Linked DNA regions of Homo sapiens: region 1 is linked to region 2. The links are contacts of gene promoters, found by promoter capture Hi-C in blood cells and fetal thymus (Javierre and others, 2016). All regions are on one chromosome and are shown on one strand. Each heading gives the region's core, a stretch centred on a gene start or on the middle of the fragment in contact. The rest is flanking DNA. Distances are from core to core; before and after follow the strand shown.

Region 1 (2,735 bases), core at 98-2,597, 2.1 Mb before region 2:
AAACCTATTTATTTCAACTAATGCTTTATGGTCCCTTCATATAAATTAGGATACGAAAATCTAGTTTAGCACTGTAGCGCCTTAGAAATCCTCCACACTGTTAAGAGCAGGGAATTGCTACGACACAGCCTAGAATCCCCTTAGCAGCGTGTCTGGAATTCTTCCAGATTCCGTCAAGCTTCAAAACTGAACAGCACCACCCACAAACCAACTTTTACCTGCCCATTCCCGGGCCTTCTAATATGCACTTCCCCCAGCCCAGGTCCCCCTACCCGGAACTAATGTTTAAAATTCTCGAGGCTCGTGGCACCCTTTAGTTGCATGTCAGTTAACAAATGCCACTTAAAAGCCCACCGAACTCCTCCCCCAGGACCTGGGGGCAATTTCATGACCTTGCAGGGTTACGGTTTCAGCAAGTGGTTTCAAGGTAGTGCTAGGTGTCCTTCCCTTCCCCGCCCTCAGACAGATCTGTACGGTCCCTTCTGCACCAAAACCACCCTCAGAGGCATCTAGGATGTTCGCCTTTGCTGTTGCAGCACCCAGCAAAGCGTCTGCAACACGGGAGGTGCTCGACGGCCGCGCTCTCTGACTCGATCGAATCTTAAAGGGTCACTCTGTCCAGCACTACAGGGTTTCAAAGGGCGTCAAGGACAAAAAGCACGACTTAACCTTCCCCTGGGCTATTGCTCAGGCTCCCGTCACCTTGCAGGCCCTGAGACTGGGGGCCTGGCTTGCAGTGGAAGTGGAAGCTCAGGAAGTGCTGATTAGCTGAGGGAACTCAAGACCGCCCAGACGTCAATTTGGACTCAGGCCGCAGTCCCGAGGTCCCAGGTGGCCCTCCGACCTCAGGGAACCGGGCGGGACCTTGCTCCGCCGGAGCCCGGCCCTGCGCACACCTTGCCCGACCTCAGAGCCGCTTCCTGCAGCCCCCGCTACCCGGCGCCTCCGACGGGCCAGGGGCCCAGCTAGGCCCTGCGACCCCACATCTGCCCCCGCGCCCATCTCCTCCTCCCTGCCCCGTGCCCAAGCTCTTCCATCCCTTGCGGTCCTGCCGATCTTCCCGCAAGCTGCCATACCATTGCGGCTGCAAGGTCCAGGCCGACAGCCCAGCGACACCCGCGCGAGAGAACATGGTAGCCACAGCCCTGCTGAAGGTCGGTCAGGCAGGCCTCAGCGCGCATGCGCCGAAGCTCCCCAGCGCGCCCCTCCCACCTTGCTCTCTTCTTCAGTCTCGTTTCTTCGCGCTACGGCGAGGGGAGTCTCGCGACCGTTGCAACCCAGTCTTCCCAGGCCCCACCTCCTTCCGCCTCTCAGCTGGGATTTGTCCCGCCCACCGCCGCCAGCCCGGTTCCGTTTCCGGCTGGCTGAGTACTGGGGTCCAGAAAGTGATCGCTGCCGTGGTCGCCATGGGGAAGTCGGATTTTCTTACTCCCAAGGCTATCGCCAACAGGATCAAGTCCAAGGGGCTGCAGAAGCTACGCTGGTATTGCCAGATGTGCCAGAAGCAGTGCCGGGACGAGGTGAGTGGGCCCGGAGTGGCCCCGTCTTCCCAGGAGGGCCCCTGGCAATCCAGGATCAGGTCCTGGACGCGGGGCTGAGGGCGCGGGGCTGGGGCTCCCGGGGTCCGGGTCGTGAGGCTTCTGAGGTCTGCAGTGGGCGAGTCAACTACTCAGCGCACGAGAGCCGTCCCTCCCCGCAGCCCCCGGGCCCAGCGGGCAGCCTGTGTTCTGCGACCCCTCATTCCTCCCCAGTCCGATCCCCACCACCAAAGAAATGAAATCAGAAAAGGTTTTGCACCCCTCACAGGGGCGGGGATACTGCAATACTAGACGCCCGGGCAATGCCAGTAACAGTCATCAGCTCTTACTTGACTTGACTCTTAAGAGAAACAGGGTGGTTAGGATTCACTCCTCTTTTGGGATCAGGTGAAAAAGGAGAGCTAAGCTCTTCCACACTACTCATCTAGCAAGCATTTATTGAGCACCTACACTGTACCGGGCACAGAATAATATTGTGGTTAAAATTATGGATTTATCTGGTTTATGGATATATCAGACTGTCAAAATTTAAAGTCAAGCAGGGCCACTTACCAACCGTGTGGTCTTGGGCAAGTTATTTACTTATATTCCCCTTTACTTATCTGTAAAGAGGGAATAATAATTTCACCTACTTGTAGGATTGTCGCTGAGTTTTAAATGAGTGAAGTATATATAGAGTGGCTCAAGGAGTCTGGGCAGATCTCGAAAAGCCTTATATGGCTACACTATGGAATTTACACTTTTCCCCATTAAAGAGGTGGTTGATTGAATGCTGTGCAGGCTAGTGATGTGATCATATTTTTCTCCGGAGATTGGACTGGATTGGGTAAGGGTGGAAGAACACTGAGGCAATTGGAATAATCTAATCCAGTGTTTCTGCAAGTGAAGGAAGAGGTATTTTAGGTAGGACTCATACTAATATTGATACAGTTACTCTCTTTAGTTCTATTAAGGAATACCTGTATATGCATTATCTAATGTCTTAGTCTGCTTGGACTGCCATATAAAGTGCAGTAGACTGGGTGGTTTAAATGACAGAAATTTATTTCTCACAGTTCTGGAGGCTGGGAAGTTCAAGATCAAGGTGCTGGCATGGTCAGATTCTAGTGAGGGTCCTCTTCTTGGTTTGCGAAACTGCCTCTATCCTCACAAAGCAGATAGAGCAAGCTCTAATAGAAACTTCTCTTCCTCTTTTTT
Region 2 (2,716 bases), core at 26-2,525:
TACAGTCACCCATTCCTATAAGGCAGTTTTTCGACAGAAGGGTATTCTTGCACCGTTAGGGGACACTGCTTTGCTATAAACCTCCTAGGCAGGATTACCGCCAGGCTCACCCCTAGTTTTATTCAGGGAACACTGTAGACTCTAGGATCGCGAATGCCATTCCAATAATACCATACACTTGTACGCCACATATTTAAGTTTTGGATACACTTTCATAAACTTTTCTATTCTAATTGTACCTTACAGGGAGAATAAGGAAGAGTAAGCGTGGTTTGTTTAAAGTTACAGATTTCAAATAGACAAGAAGCGACTAAGAGAAACTTGAGAATTCCCAAAGTAATCTTCCTCAAAATTTCAGTCATCAACCCAGTTCTCCCACGAAACGCTGCTTGGCGCCGCCTTCAGACAAACTTCTGTGTTGCTCGCACCAAGTTATCCCAACGCGGCTTGCGCTTGCTGCTGAAATGACCCTCCCTTCGGAGAGACCTGTTTTACCCTAAAAAGAAAAGGTGGCGCATTGCCATGAAGTCTCGAGTAGCAGCAGGCTTCACGCAGAACCCGCAGGAAATGATTTCCCAGCCGGTGCAAACCCGAAGACGGAAACTTCAGCCAAGAACTTATCAGCATATCCCTGAGGACGCAGCTGTCCCCTGACAGGCGACGCAAACGAAACGCCTCAGAAAGGGGCAAGATGACACGGTTAGGATCTCCCTGCCGGCGACACCGAGCGCGGCCACAGGTTGTAGCGCAGGACAGAAGGTTGAGTCATCTAGAAGGCGCCGACCCCTCCCACCCCCTCACCCGGAGCGCGGCAAAAGGCAAGGAGAACGCGTCGACCCTCGCAGCCAAGCCCCGGCAGCTGCCCGAGCGCTCGGCCTCGGGGACCCGCCGTCCTCCTCGCAGGGTTCCCGGGCGCCCAGGCCGAGGAGGGACTTACCCGTCCTTGGCGTGGCCGCCGCCCCCGAGGACCTGAGATCCCGGCTCGGCCTCCTTCCCATGCTTCTCCCGGCCGTGCTCTGCGTCCTCCCGGGCCCTCGCGACACCGGCGCACGTGGGAAGCACCAGTCGCCGGCTCCGCGCTCCCGCGGGGACCCCCCTCAGGGGCACGCCGTCCGCCCCAGCCCCGGGGTCCTCGCCGCGGGCGCTGACAGGGACGCCGCGGCCGCCCGCGCTCTGTCTCCCGTCAGGGTCACGGGCAAGAGGCAACCCCGGGACGCCCGGCAGCCTGCGAGAACATGCCGACTTTCTCTCTGACCGGCGCTAGCAACCGGAAGCAAAACCTCGCGGCCAAAGGAAAAGAAAAGGGGAGGGGGGGGCAAAAAAAGAAAGTGAAAACTGAAGTGAGGCGTCTCCCTCAGAGATGGGAACCAATCGCCGGGAAGAAACCAAGGCGCAGGCGCGGACCGAGGTCAGCGTCCACGCGGCGCTCGCGTCTCCCCTCTGCGCAGGCGTAAGGCCACAGCTCGCTCCTGATTAGGCGGCCGATCCCAACGAGCGCGTGGTGTCTCGCGTTGCCGACCCTTGACAGGAGGCGGAAGATGCCCTTGGGAAGAGGCGGGAGACGCTCTCTCGGCTGACCTACAGTGCTGTGGCTGTGGCCCACGTGGTCGCCTTCGGGCGCCTTCTCCCTTCTCAGCGTTTCATTCCCCAGGTGCTGCTGCAAGAACAGTTTATTTGTCTGGCCCGAATGCGACATTTTGGAAATTTTGCCCTTGTTTTAATCCATATAGTAGGTGTGGCTGTTACCCCCTAGGAAAGCATCTCTAGAAATTTATAACACATGCACAGAGAGCTAAGGTGACCATCAATAAATTCAGGTTTACCCTTGCCCATGATAAATAGTCATGCAAACATCATTTAACTGTAGGGACACCTTATGAGAGAGATGCCTCATTAGGCAATTTGGTCCTTGAGTGAACATCACAGAAACCTAGAAGCATAACCTACTACATACTTACACCATAAGCCATAGCCCATTACTCCTGGCTACAAACCCATGCTATATGTTATTGTACTGAATACTGTGGACAATTATAACACAATGGTAAGTATTTGTATAAGCATATCTAGACATAGAAAAGGTACAATAAAAATACAGTATGAAAAATAATGGTACACCTGTGTAAGGCATTCTCACGAATGGACCTTGCAGTACTGGGAGTTGCTCTGGGTGAGTCTGTGAGTGAGCAATGAGAATGTGAAGGTCTGGGACATTACTGTACACTCTTGTAGACTTTATAAACACTGTACACCTAAGCTACACTGAATTTATTTTTTTAAATTTTTTCATAATTAACCTTAGCTTACTGTAACTTTTTAACTTTTTAAAACTTTTAAAAAACTTTTTAAGACTCTTTTGTAATAACACTTAGCTTAAAACAAACACATTGTACACAAATATTTTCTTTATATCCTTAATCTGTAAGTTTTTTTCTATTTAAAAATTTTTTTAATTTACTTTTTAAACTTTTTTGTTAAAAACTAAGACACAAACACACATTAACCTGGGCCTACACAGGGTCAGGATCATCAACATCATTGTCTTCACCTCCATTTTGTCCCACTGGGGGGCTGGGATTACGGTGGAGCCACTGCGCCTGGCCATGTGTGCTGTACTTTTATATGACTGGCAGTGCAGTAGATTCATTTACACCAGCATCACCACAAACATATGAGTAATGTGTTGCTGTACGAAATTAAGATGGCTACGACATCA

What was found. The method cuts DNA at HindIII sites, captures the fragments that hold promoters and counts their contacts. A CHiCAGO score of 5 or more calls a contact.
Region 1: the fragment with the promoter of KIN here is called in contact with the fragment with the promoter of TASOR2 in region 2 in 1 of 17 cell types (monocytes); the score reaches 6.2 in monocytes.

The regions. Positions count from the first base shown.
Region 1 is chr10:7,786,605-7,789,339 of GRCh38, reverse strand. KIN (Kin17 DNA and RNA binding protein) reads left to right here and starts at 1,347. Exons shown (of 13, transcript NM_012311.4): 1 at 1,347-1,520. The coding sequence starts at 1,407. It overlaps ATP5F1C (ATP synthase F1 subunit gamma), which reads right to left and starts at 1,163. Exons shown (of 10, transcript NM_001001973.3): 1 at 1,077-1,163. The coding sequence starts at 1,132. RefSeq lists enhancers at 79-622, 1,075-1,394. The HindIII fragment of the contact is 3,793 bases long and covers 181-2,735 here.
Region 2 is chr10:5,683,397-5,686,112 of GRCh38, reverse strand. It overlaps TASOR2 (transcription activation suppressor family member 2), which reads right to left and starts at 1,275. Exons shown (of 22, transcript NM_001321783.2): 1 at 938-1,275. RefSeq lists enhancers at 432-611, 1,232-1,341, 1,482-1,721 and silencers at 832-881, 922-1,181. The HindIII fragment of the contact is 4,285 bases long and covers 1-2,716 here.